3 separate regions of the Homo sapiens genome follow, and all the other regions are linked to region 1. The links are contacts of gene promoters, found by promoter capture Hi-C in blood cells and fetal thymus (Javierre and others, 2016). All regions are on one chromosome and are shown on one strand. The core of a region is centred on a gene start or on the middle of the fragment in contact, and the rest is flanking DNA. Distances in the headings are between cores, read along the strand shown. Region 1 holds the start of ZBTB33 (zinc finger and BTB domain containing 33). Region 2 overlaps CUL4B (cullin 4B). Region 3 has its middle 120 kb from the start of CT47B1.

Evidence for each region. The method cuts DNA at HindIII sites, captures the fragments that hold promoters and counts their contacts. A CHiCAGO score of 5 or more calls a contact.
Region 2: a fragment that was not itself captured here is called in contact with the fragment with the promoter of ZBTB33 in region 1 in 1 of 17 cell types (total CD8 T cells); the score reaches 5.6 in total CD8 T cells.
Region 3: a fragment that was not itself captured here is called in contact with the fragment with the promoter of ZBTB33 in region 1 in 1 of 17 cell types (fetal thymus); the score reaches 9.7 in fetal thymus.

What each region holds. Positions count from the first base shown.
Region 1 is chrX:120,248,137-120,252,097 of GRCh38, forward strand. It overlaps ZBTB33 (zinc finger and BTB domain containing 33), which reads left to right and starts at 2,676. Exons shown (of 3, transcript NM_001184742.2): 1 at 2,676-2,841. It also overlaps a transcript of TMEM255A not described here. RefSeq lists an enhancer at 2,383-3,221. The HindIII fragment of the contact is 5,064 bases long and covers 1-3,371 here.
Region 2 is chrX:120,555,050-120,559,596 of GRCh38, forward strand. It overlaps CUL4B (cullin 4B), which reads right to left. Exons shown (of 20, transcript NM_001079872.2): 2 at 2,875-2,990. Among named protein-coding and RNA genes, the nearest start is that of CUL4B, 3.6 kb to the right of the region's middle. The HindIII fragment of the contact is 319 bases long and covers 3,139-3,457 here.
Region 3 is chrX:120,755,048-120,759,368 of GRCh38, forward strand. No RefSeq gene overlaps it. Among named protein-coding and RNA genes, the nearest start is that of CT47B1, 120 kb to the right of the region's middle. RefSeq lists an enhancer at 43-122. The HindIII fragment of the contact is 6,950 bases long and covers 1-4,321 here.

The DNA.
Region 1 (3,961 bases), core at 1,426-3,925:
AAATCTGTAACCATAAGCATAACATATAGGAAGTGCTCTAAGACTGAACGAGTGTCACTTTATCTTTTGTCATCAATTAATATATATTAAGCACCCACAAGATTGTTGGCATTTTAACACAGGAGAGGACAGTTACCGCCCTCATGGAATTCACAATCAAGGTCAAAAGGCAAGCAAACGCTGACAATACGGCTATAAAACCTAACTCATCCCATTTTCAGCCAATAAAACCTTTCTAGAATGTGAAACAATTGATACCTCCAAATCCATTTGATATAGGTTGTTCTCTGACCTCAGGTGATCCTCCCACCTCGGCCTCCCAAAGTGAGTTGTTGTTGTTTGAAATAGAGTTCAAACTACTGGGTTGTTTGAAGTAGGGTTAAGCCCTCCAGATTAAAAACAAAAGTAAAAGTGAAATGACTAGTTGAGAAACAGAAAATTAATTAAACTTTCCAGTGATCCTGTCCCAAAGACAATTATTAAGGCCACTCAGGCTTCTTGGTCTGTTCTGCTTTCCTACAAATAAAATTCCTTTCCTGACCATTGGACCCCCTTTCATTATAGGTAGCTTTTAAACTTGTTTAGTTTTTGCTTGGTTAGGGGGTGAGAGATACAGCAAGAAGGGAAGAGAAGGTTTACTGTGCTTTGAATGAACAGGTTTCATCATATGTTAGTTGGTACTCCAAACTTTTAAAATACTTTCAGGAAAGTGACAATGGCATGGCAATTCTGTTGCCAGCCTCAGTGATGTAAATGCTGGTACAAAATAAATTGCATTGTGCCTTCCAGTTTACTGAGAGCTGACCAACAAACATGATATCTAGAGTGGCATCTATTGCCACTGTGATCTGTATTTCAAAGATATGTCTCATTTTAGTTTTCATCAATTAAGCCACTGAAAGATAAATAGATCCTAAACTTTCAAGATATACTTTGTTCTAATTACTAAGATTTTTTTTTTTACTACTAAGTTTTGGGGAGGATAACTCAGAAAAATGGTTATTAAGTACTCAGTTGCCAGGAAAAATACTAATCTGCCTTAGTTTATTTTACAACAGCATACTTCTATTTGCCATGAAATATCTTTATAGTAAACAATGAAACTTTTCATAATGCTAAGTCCTAATCAAAAATCAATAATGCAATAATTCCCACATAGTTTGTTTTCCCACAATACAAAATCTTGGAGAAGAGCTTAAGGAATTGCATATTTCCATGTGAAATACAGCTATATTATACCACTTTGATGTTTTATTATACCATGTGGCTTTACTTTATTGAGGAGGATGAAGAATAGATTAGGGATAGGTAGATGAGATGATGACATCCATGTCTGATTTCCTGTCAGAGAAAATTAGATATAGTTACATCTGTTTTCAGTCTAATATCCTGATGGACATTTTCAGCAAGATTTTTTAGGAAAGAAGCACAGGAATTCCACTGCAAGGTATTAATAGGTACAAATTTAAGATTTTGGAAATGAATGCAGTATTATCCTATATATATCTTTTTAAAAAGATAATGAAGGTAGTGAATGGCCTTAATTATGGCAGAAAAAAAGTTACTATTTGGTTCCTTAGTTGAATACGATCAATAACCAGCCTAAAAGGGAAACATTTTGCTCTCCAAACACCCATCCTGTTGCTTCATTTATTATGGTACTCAGTTGGAAGGGTATTACCAGAGGATTTTAAAAAATTATGTAACTCACAATGTATTTTTTCGGTCATTAAACAATCACTGAACACATACTATGTGTCAGACACTAAAGCCCTCTGAAGATGAAATGTTATGGAAATAGTAATAATAAAAAATTAAAATAGTAACAATAAAAAATTAAAAATGCAAGTGTTAATATTATTAATCTTTCAAGATACAGGTCAAATGACAGCATTCAATTTGCTATTCTCTTCTCTCTGCTTCTACACCTTGTACAAATATTTTTGTCCATGTTTGTGTACCTACCTACTGAGCTCCCTAAAGAGGTAGAGACCTTTGGGTTATTCATTTTTGTATTCCCGAGAGCCTAACATAGGGTTTTTGCTACAGATCAAGCAGGGGGTCAGTAAATGCTAGTTGGAATGAGGGAATTAACATAGTACTGCACCATTTAGTATTCAATTAAGAAGATAGTTGTCCAAACACTAAATTTCTTTCTTAAAAGTAGTTACTGTAATGTAGTTGCTCTCTTGTTATCCCAGAACTTGAATTACCATAAGAAGTTGTGAATTTCTATTTGATTGTATGTATTTTGATTATATTTCAAGATGGTTTATCATCTAGCAAACAGTCTAATAGAGCAGATTCAAACTTGCAAAATAAATGAAACCTGTATAGTCTCTAAAAGTTTGTATGCCCTAGAAGTTCACATTGAATTTCGATGAAAACGACTCGCTTCCCTTCCATCCAATTGCTTGCGACTGTCTTACCCGATCTTTCCCTTTCCTTTTTTCCCACCCGTTAGCCCTCCGGAAAGAGCCGAACACACAAGAGCTTCCCAGTCTTCCTCCGCCCCCTTGCGGAAAGAACCGAAGGCAGAGCACGGCGCCGAAGTGGAGCCGCCTCAAGCTCGGGCCCTTCCGGACCACCCCGGCCTGCGCTCGGAAGAGGAGGGCGCCTTTGGCTTCAGCGCTTCGCCCCCGCGCTGTGCCCTCTGTCGGCGGCGTGGGGCAGCTGTAGCAGCGTTGGCGGCAGGAGGCGGCGGCCGCGTCGACGTCGACCCAGACTGGAGCGACGTTTAAAGAAGGGGCAGAATCGCTGGGGAGTGCGGCTTCTTCTTGTTGGGGGACTCCCAGCCTTCCGCGCGTCCGGAGGAGGAGAAGCGGCGGCGCCGGGAAGCAGGTGAGGACCCGGCCCCAATCAGGGAGGGGGCGAAGGAGCGCGCTTGCCTTCTCCGTCCCTGGGCCGCGCCTGCGTTTGCATTCGCCTCACTTGAACCAGGAAGCGGCAGAGTCGGAGGCTCAGCTCCTCCGGCTCTTTCTTTGTGTGGGCCGGGGAGCGAAGGAGGGGACGAGCCGCGAGGGCCGCGGCGCGGTCCCCTTCGCCGTTAGGGGCCGAGGGGCTGCCGGTGCCCTGGGTAGGCCCCGGGGCTTGGGGAATCCATCACAGAGACCCACTTGGCTTTTCCCTCGCCCCTCTCGCTGCTTTTTTGTGCCTCTTTTACTCCCCTAGCCCCTACTTTGATTTAGAGCTTTTCTGCCAGGCCCATCCTCCCCTTCCGTCCCCTTCCCGGGGCACAACAATGCCGCCTGCTTCGCTTCATCCCCCCCCCAACACCCCACCCTGCCGTTCGCCACCTTCTACTTTCCCTGGTACCCCATATTCCTCCCGCCCTCACTCTGCTGTTTGTACCTCCGTCTGTATTTGCAAGAAGCTTGCTTTGCACGTGAATTGGGGTTAAAAACCTCGGTTGCAGCTGGCAGGGTCCATATGGGGAAGAGGGAGGTGGAGGAAGGGAGATGAGGTTCAGCTGCCGCAGGGAGCCGCGTGTCGGTTTGTTTCACTCCCTCGCGGATGGCTTTTATCTCTTTCCACCGTCACCAGCTCCTCCGAACTGGCCCTCGGTCAAGGGTTTCACAGTGATGTGGAATGGCTTTTCCACAGTCGAATCGCATATCTTCGGAGTGGGTTCAGACCGACTTGTGCTGTCTCTGGGGCCACCCTGAGTGGGAGGAGGGGGACACATAAACGAAACGAAACCGAGTCCCAGTGTCACCTGGACACGTACATTTGACGCATTCCCATATTGGAAGAACCCGGGAGCAAATGACAAAAATTGCGTGCCGTTTTCAGAAAACCTGTCTTTCCACTTAATATCGACTTCTGTCGAAATGCCCGTATTTCGGAAGCCCTGGTTTTTGGCAAACTGTCCAAAGGTCACCCTTTCTGATGATGAATGCCTTTATGGTAACCTGGAATTCCTTGGTACTGTTAACATGCAACACCTTCTAATAATGTTTTA
Region 2 (4,547 bases), core at 2,048-4,547, 310 kb after region 1:
AAGGTATTATGAAAAATGCAAACAGTGAAGTTATAAGACTTGTGACTAGGCTAAAGAAATGCAACTGAACAACAGCAGGTAAAACTTACGAAGTACAAGAAAACAAAAACAAGAGATGCAAGCTCTATGCTCTTGAAAGAAAAAGATTTAACAGAATCAATGTATCAGGAAAAGTATTTTCAAATCAAAAGCTCTGGAAAAATATTCAAGGTAAAGTAAATAGGGTTAATTAATAACCACAATAAACATTTGTTACAAATATGGAATATATAAAATATTATTGAAATTAAATATGCTGTATACCAGCATATCCAAATAAACACCATATACTATCCAAATAAACACCACTTATGCATGCACAGATAAAAATACTACTAAAATTATAAAGAGCTTTTTCCCTAAAGTAAAACAATTTAATTGTTTCAAACACTGCACTACAGTGGTATTCAAAGTACCAGGGTATATTAGTGAGGTGGTACAGGAGTAAAAGTGCAATGAACTAGAAATCCAGCATCTCAGTTTGAGTTGCCCCTGCTCTGCCAATATGTGACTCTGGGCAGGTTATTCAACTTCTCTGAGACTCAGTCTCCTCATCAATAAAGTGGGGATAGGCCAGGCGCGGTGGCTCACACCTGTAATCCCAGCACCTTGGGAGGTGGAGGCGGGTGGATCACTTGAGGTCAGGAGTTCGAGATCAGCCCGGCCAACATGGTGAAACCCTGTCTCTACTAAAAATACAAAAACTAGCAGGGCGTGGTGGCAGGCGCCTGTAATTCCACCTACTTGGGAAGCTGAGGCAAGAGGATCACTTGAGCCCGGGAGGTGGAGGTTGCAGTGAGCCGAGATCACGCCACTGCACTCCAGCCTGAGTGACATAGCAAGACTCCATCTCAAAAAAAAAAAAAAAAAAAAGTGGGGATAGTAACTACTACCCTACGTACCCCAGAAAGGGTTTCCATAATGCTTATATGAGATAATACGAGATGAATCCCCTTTGCAGGCTGTCATGGACACCACAAAGAAAAAATATTGGACCACATGCTCTCTTAAGGCCTTTCCAAGTCAGTTTCATATTTTGGCTTTTATTGTTGTACATTTTAAGAGACGCATATATAATACGCCAAAAGAGCCATATGAAATGGGCTTATTCTTAAGTAATAGCTTAGTACTACAACTACTAGCCGACATTTGCATAGCATTATAATGCTTATAATGTTACACGGCATTATTACTATGTGTTGTGCACTGATTTGAGTATTTTGCGTGTACTAATTTTCACAGCAACAGAAACTGGTGATCTCAATTGTCATACTACAAGTGAAGAAGCTATAATGTGGCTTGTAAAAAAGTTTGACTCGTGATACCATCTTATATTTGTAAGATTATAGTGCCTGGAGGCGTTTTCCACAAATATCTTATTTGATTCTTATCAGCAACCTTGTGAGACAGGTAGGGCAAACTATTATTTCCTCTACTTTAGAGAGGAGGAAATTTAAATTGAGAGTGACGGCTGGGTTTGGTAGCTCATGCCTGTAATCTCAGCACCTTGGGAGGTTGAGGTGACAAGACTGCTGTAGCCCTGGAGTTCAAGACCAGCCTGGGCAACATAGCAAGACCCCTATCTCTTAAAAAAACAGGAAAAAAAACTGAGAGGGCTTTAGTACCTGGCCCAAGATTATGAGGGTAACAGCAGTCAAAACTAGATCCCAAACCCATCTTCTGACTCCTAATCCAGGTTTACCCATCACCATACTAGCTCTGCAACTAAAATATACAAATACTGATAAATAAAACCAACATAATTTCTTACAAGGTACTCATCAATACAAAAATTCAAGCTATTGTACTCTGAAGTATATATATATTTTTTTTTTTTTTTGAGATGGAGTTTCACTCTTGTTGCCCAGGCTGGAGTGCAATGGTGCAATCTCGGCTCACCGCAACCTCTACCTCCTGGGTTCAAGCGATTCTCCTGCCTCAGCCTCCTGAGTAGCTGGGATTACAGGCATGCACCACATTGCCTGGCTAATTTTGTATTTTTAGTAGAGACGGGGTTTCTCCATGTTGGTCAGGCTGGTCTCGAACTCCTGACCTCAGGTGATCTGCCAGCCTTGGCCTCCCAAAGTGCTGGGATTACAGGTGTGAGCCACCGTGCCCGGCCTGAAGTATCTTTTAACACCAAATCCCTGACACTCTAATGAAAGTAACTTCTTGAATTGGTTGTGTGTCAAATACACAGTAGGGAAAAATTTCTTGGTAGCAAGGGATTGCCCTTAGGAACTGCCCTTAAAATTATATTTAAGTGTAAGGACCCATTTGCTAAGTAAAGAATCTGAACCTCAGACTAAGCTGCTGGACTACAAACTGCTACTCATTTCTGGGCTAAGGTGCGTCTTGTAGCCCAGGTATTAGAAAAATGTAAAGAGCAAGAAAAAGAAATGGCAAAGTCTACTATTAAGAAGGAGGTAGAATAAAGGATATGAATAATATCTGCATGTCTTGAGGCCTTTCCTATGGGTAGGTAACACAACTAAGAAACAATTATCACAATAGAATGACATGTCACCAGAAATCATCTTTGGGATTCATGCTATAGGATTACATTATAGGTAGAACTTCTATTACACCAAGGTACACGTAACTGTAATTTCTTATCAGGAGGGTCAAATATAAGCACAACTTATACTGGTATGACTGTACCCATGGTTTATGTGAGAATACGTGGTCTAATTATAGAGTTCATCAATTAATGGAGAAACTAAAATTAGAAGGGAACCAAAAGTCTACTTAAGAACCTATTTCAGAAAGCAAAATCCATATACATCCCACCTCAATTTATGTTAATCAAATCTGGTTATGCATATTAATACATACCTGGTAGAGTTCTTCTAAATTGTACTTAATTGAAGTACTATTCTGAATAGCTTCCACTGCTTCTTTCAGTTTTTGCCAGGTTTCATCTGTGTAGTTTTCTGGTAATTTAGGCTTATCTAGATGATATGTAAAAGGTTGGCATCAGAATACCATGTCAGATACAGTAACCAAAGATTCATAAAATATAATAGCATTACTAATTTTAGGGTAAATTGTGATCTTTATAACTATTACACCTAATCATTAAAGTAACCACTGTATTTAAGCTTAATATAAAGAATAAAATTTGAAATGCCATAATACTGTTTAAGTCATTTTGACTCACCTATTAAAATTGAAGGTGAGGTTTTTCTCCTATTGATTGTATTGCTTCAAAAAAATAAAAATTCAAGAATGACCATAAAAAATAACAATCCTGATCTTATTTCATCATGTGTAAAACCTAAGTCGACATGAATTTTTAACCTGAGATTTAAAGTACTGTCTATGTGCAAGGTACTTTATAAGCCTCTTAATCTTCCCAACAATACCCTGAGGAATCTATTTTACAACCGAGGAAACTGAGGCTGGAACTCATTTAGTAAGCTTGCCCAAGGTCATCATAGCTAGTCAATGGCAAAGCTGGGATTCTAATTCAGGTCTGTTTGACCCCCACATTTATGCAGCATCTATAGAAATGGAAACATCTTAACTCAGGTTTTAAACTACATTTACGAGCAGAGTGAAATTTTTAAAGACTGAAAGAAATGACTCCAGAAACCATGTTGCATTTTCAGAATAGAAAGAAACATCTTACTCTAGGCTTTAAACTTCACTGACTAGCAATGAGTGTGGGGAAAAAAGTTTTAATTAGAATATCCAAATGCCTTAATAATATGCTTTTATTTTAGGAGGGAGAGAAAAAAATCTCTGAAACCAATTTGAAAATGCAACCAGGATCATAACTCATTTAAAAATCTTTAGCTACAAAATCCATATATTTTTAAGTGAAATAATGAAAACGTTACTCAATTACAATTCATATTGACTTCAGAAAGCTCTACTATTAAATCAGAAACTGAGAGCCTGGGTATGGGAAGGTAGTGATATAAAAAAGAAAGGGTTAAAAATAGACAACACCATAGCCCTCTGCTTGAGACAAAATAGAGCATACTCCTGATTTCCACACAATGTTAAAAACACAAGCATAGAGAACCTAATCTTCTCAATACTAATATTCAGCCACAAAGCACTTATCTCATAAATATTACTTAAGTTCATTCATTTACTTCTCTATTTAATAAACACTGTAGCACTGATTACCTGGCAGTTACGGGTGTTGAAAAAGTAAGTCAGAAAAACAGAAACACATTCAACAAATAAAAATTAATTCAGCTCAAATACATTTTTAAAAATTGCTGATTTTATATTTGCCTCAATGTATTCATAATACTCTCCTCACATATCTCAAACACGGTCTGAACAAATTTTCCTAAAAGCTGCAGGTCGATACTTTAAAATCCATTTTAGTGATGGAAAAAATAGATGTAGTAATTGTTCCTATCTTTAGACTAGTGGTACACAGAGTTACTACTTCTGTGTATACACAATGTTTTTCACTTTCAAACCCTACCTTTGGAAAGAAATGCAGAGAACATAAATTTTTCTTCAAATATTCCTTCCAAATGAGTTTC
Region 3 (4,321 bases), core at 179-2,678, 510 kb after region 1:
TTAATTTGAGTGAGACAAAAAGACATTGGATGGGTTTAAGCAGAGGAGTGGTGTGATCTGAATTAAAAGGGATCACACTGGCTGTTGTGGGGAGGATAAATTATAGAGTAGCAAGCATGGAAAAAGGGAGGCTATGTCAGGGGTTGGGGAAGTATTATTTGTTTGAGTGTTCTTGAACTCTCCTGTTCTCTCACCTTGTTGGGTTAGGGGGAGGGGTGGGGTGGTTTGTGACCTAGGACTTTGTGCCTTTTGAAAAAGGGAAGTAACTAACACGTGACAGTGTGTGTAACATTTGCAGATGTGGCTTCTCTGGATCAAGAGCCAAACAAACCTGCCATAGCAATTTGAATTTCTTCCTCTTAAGCCTCTTATTCCACTTCAGATCCCCCTCCTGACCTATTCTTTGGGGATTCTTAGATACATTTCCATCCCCCATAGTGACCTAGGTCTCTTATCCAGCTTTATTTCCTGCTTTTGACAGAGGAAAAAGATAGACTTCTGAATTGATGTGAGTGGAGATCTTATTATAGTAGCCACCTATAAAATAGCAGGAGGTAGAGATGTTTAATGTGTAAAATGGTTGTTGTCCTGGAAAAAAATCAATACCATAAATGTGAATTTAATGGGATCCCTCAGGGAATGGGAGTCTGGGCAATGTAACATTTTAGTTAATTGAAAGGTAACCCACTTCTCACCTTTGTTTTTTTCCCTCTTTTCTTTAAATTAGCTCTTGTTTCTGAGTGTGACAATCAAAGTGTTTACTGTGTGCATGTAATGTGCCAGGCACTGTGCTAGGTGTTTTACACACAGAACCTTATGCAATCCCTGTAACAACTGATGATGTAGATGTTTTCTTTATTCCCATTTTAAAGTTGAGGAAACCGAGGCTTGGAGAAATTAAACCGCTCACCTGAGGTGTCTTAGCTGATAAATGCCCAAGCTAGTCTGTCTGATGCTGAGACGCAACCTCAGTGATCAGTGTCTTGCTCATCATGGACTCTATTGTGTTTAATTTCTGGACTTCAGACAGGGCTTTAGCATTATCCTGCTAGCCATCTTGGAAGACTGTTCTAGGTTAGAAATGGAGGCAGAGAGAGAGGGTCAGGAGCCTGGGCTATGTGATGGCAGCCTTGGGAATGGGGTCCATTTACTGTTATTACTTTTTAAAGTAAAAGTTTTAATATCAACCTGTTTTCTTGTTACTAGGTTCTTCTAATGGACTGCAGAAGAGCAGTGTTTAGTTAACTGATAACAGTGTTATGATGTTACTTTAAGCATCGAAGCTCCTTAATTTGGTATGCCCAGTTTTTATTTTTGGTGGGGGACAGGGTGCAAGGAAATCAATCGGAATTAGCTGTAAATCTGAAATCCAGACTGTTTTAAATAAGTGCAGTCTCGTTTCATTTTTTTCAGTCACATTTAGTAACATAATCTAATGCTAACAAAGTGTCAAAGTGAGGCCTATTTTAATAAATACATTAAAAAAGTCATTCACTGTTCTATGCAAATGAGTTCTTTCATAGTTTAAAAATGAGCCTACTCATTTGCTTAACAAAGCTGATTTTCCCAGATCAATGCACAATACCTTGATCTCAGCCCTGGTCTGAATTACTGCAAAATTTGAATGAGAAGTTCTGCGCTAGATAGTTTTTGTCTGCCTCTTCAGGTCCTCACTCCAGTCTTCCCTCCTGCACTCTACCCTGGGAAGCTGACCTGTAGGGATGACATCAAAAGTCTCCCTTTTCTTAGTCAGGCTATGATGGTAAAGGCATCTCCAAATCCTCTTCCTAGCCCTGAGTTACCCTGCCTACACCTTTATAAATAGTCCATTTATTAATATTGACCCTTACCCCTCTCCAAAATAGCCATTTTGAGTGTGCCATCTATTTCCTGCTGGGACACTGATTGATACAGGTTTTGAATTATGTCTATATCTTTATTTCATGTACAGGTCTGAGACTGTATATGAGGGTAATATGACCATAGTTCTAATTTGAATGTACAGAGCACCATACAAGTCCGGTGGTTTACTGGGGAGTGTCTAGGAACACAAAGGAAAAAGGAACAATCACAGACCTGTCCATCAGATTCCTGTGATGTGGGTTTCAATAATCTGAGTATAGATGGATAGATAATGACTGGGCAAAAGAAAGGACTAGAGTAAGGAGCGATATTGACTTGTCTGGATTTTTTACTTTCCTATCAAGATCCTCTGACTGGCATTGGATCTTGGGGATGGGGTTAAGGCAGGAGACCCCTATGGACTGGATTTAATGCCTACAACTCGTCCAAGGAGGAGGGTAGAAACACCTGGTACAGGTAAGAGGCTTAGGAAAGGAGTATGAGTCAAGAATATAACAACGTGACCCAGGAAAAAAACCAGATTATAAACTCTTTGAGGGAAGACATTTTGACTATCTTGCTTGATGCTATTCTCTAATTAGTACCCAGCCAATAGACTGGCAAATAGTAGGCATTCTATAAATATTTGAGTGAATAAATGAATGCAGGAAGACAGAAGAACATACAGACTTAATGCACAATGAAATTACAGGACTTCCCTAGGGAGAATCCCAGCCCAGGTATCAGGGCCAATGTTTAGGAATGAGAGTGATAATTTATTTCCCATGGATAGAAAAGCCCCAGCTGTGCACTGCACATAATCCTTTGGGCAAATTAGATTATTAGAATCAAGGACTAAAACCAGTGGTCAGTTTGCCCACTGCCAATTTTAAACAGAGAAGACTTTGAGCAAATGGGGATCTAATTTGAGGAAGGTTTTCTTGGTGCTTAAGTAGCTGTTTGAAAACATGGGGCTTTTTTTTTCTACTGAAAAAAAGTGCTCATATGGCCTCTGCTGTGTTCTGAATATTTGTGTTCCCGCAACAATTCATGTGTTGAAACCTAACTTCCATTGTGATAATATTAAGAGGAGGGCTTTTGGAAGGAGATTCATCCCATTCATGAAGGGATTAAGTGCCCTTATAAAAGAAACCCCAGAGAGCTAGCTAGTCTCTTACACCATGTGAGGACACAGCAAGAAGGTGCCATCTTTGAAGCAGAGAATGAGCCCTCACCAGACACTGGATCTGCTGGCACCTTGATCTTTGACTTCCCAGCCTCTGGAACTATGAGAAATAAATTTCTGTTCATAAGGTACCCATTTAATGGTATTTTGTTATAGCAGCCTTAATAGCCCAAGACAGCCTCTTTTCCTAGAAACACATAGAATATTATTTTCAGGCATTCTTGTCAAAGATAACAATAGAAGATCTAGTAGTGAATCAGCACATTATAGTTCTGTTGATGCTTCTGTTGCCAAGGCCAGTTGTTTTACTTAAGAATACAATGTGCAAGTAAGATGTTTTGGGGTTTTAAAAGTGAGTATGTGACGAGAGGATCTTCGCCTTAGCATTTTTCCTTCTACAGGCCTCTTGAAGACTTCCACCTGGTAATGATTGGCGGGAGGGGGGCACCTAAAGTCACACTCTGTGCTTTACATTAAGAAGGCAGTTTATAGTACTGGAGGACTGGATGTTTTGGATGCATCAGATAATTTATCTAGGAAGCCTTTTCAAATTCACAGGTATCACTATCTGTCTGTGCTCCCCCACCTCCGTGTTAATCAGAATCAGTTGGGAACACCAATTTAAACTGCATCAGTTTGGACCAGACTTCCCCCTTCCAAAGATCTGAAATGGGTGGTTTGACTGAATTTCAAGAAGCATGAACAATGGTTTGGAAGAAATGGAGTCAGTGAAGTTTAATGAGTCAACCAATGGTAACGAATTATGGTGATTCTAAGTGAATGCCCTCCTTTCTTCCCAACTGGCTGAACTTACAACATTTCAGGTCAGCCTTGGTGACTAGAGCCATTGAGAGAGAGCATCTTCATAGCCCTTATGAGCACCAGCTGACAAAAAAGAGGTCATGTCTTTCTTTTACACAATTTTAATGTAATCCTCACCAGCATTAGCGAAAATTGCTTTTTGGTGGCCAGAGGGAAGCAAAGAGCCCTTGACTATCTTAACATCCTGACAGCCTCAGTGAAAATGGAAAATTATTGTGATGGGAAGATTGGCTTCAGAGACTCTGACCGGGGCAGTAAGTTCAAATCAATTTTGATTAATCCATTTTCTTTGAAAATTGGTTGTGCAAAATGGTCAAGGTCAAAAAGAGACACTTCAGTTACTGAATCCCATTCACAGAGTGATTGCCCTGTCTTGTTCATGTAAAACACTAAATGTGCCATAATTTTGATAGGGAGGAGGTATTCAGAAAAGGAAAAGGAAGGTACAGAAGGGGAAGAGGCAGAAGAATT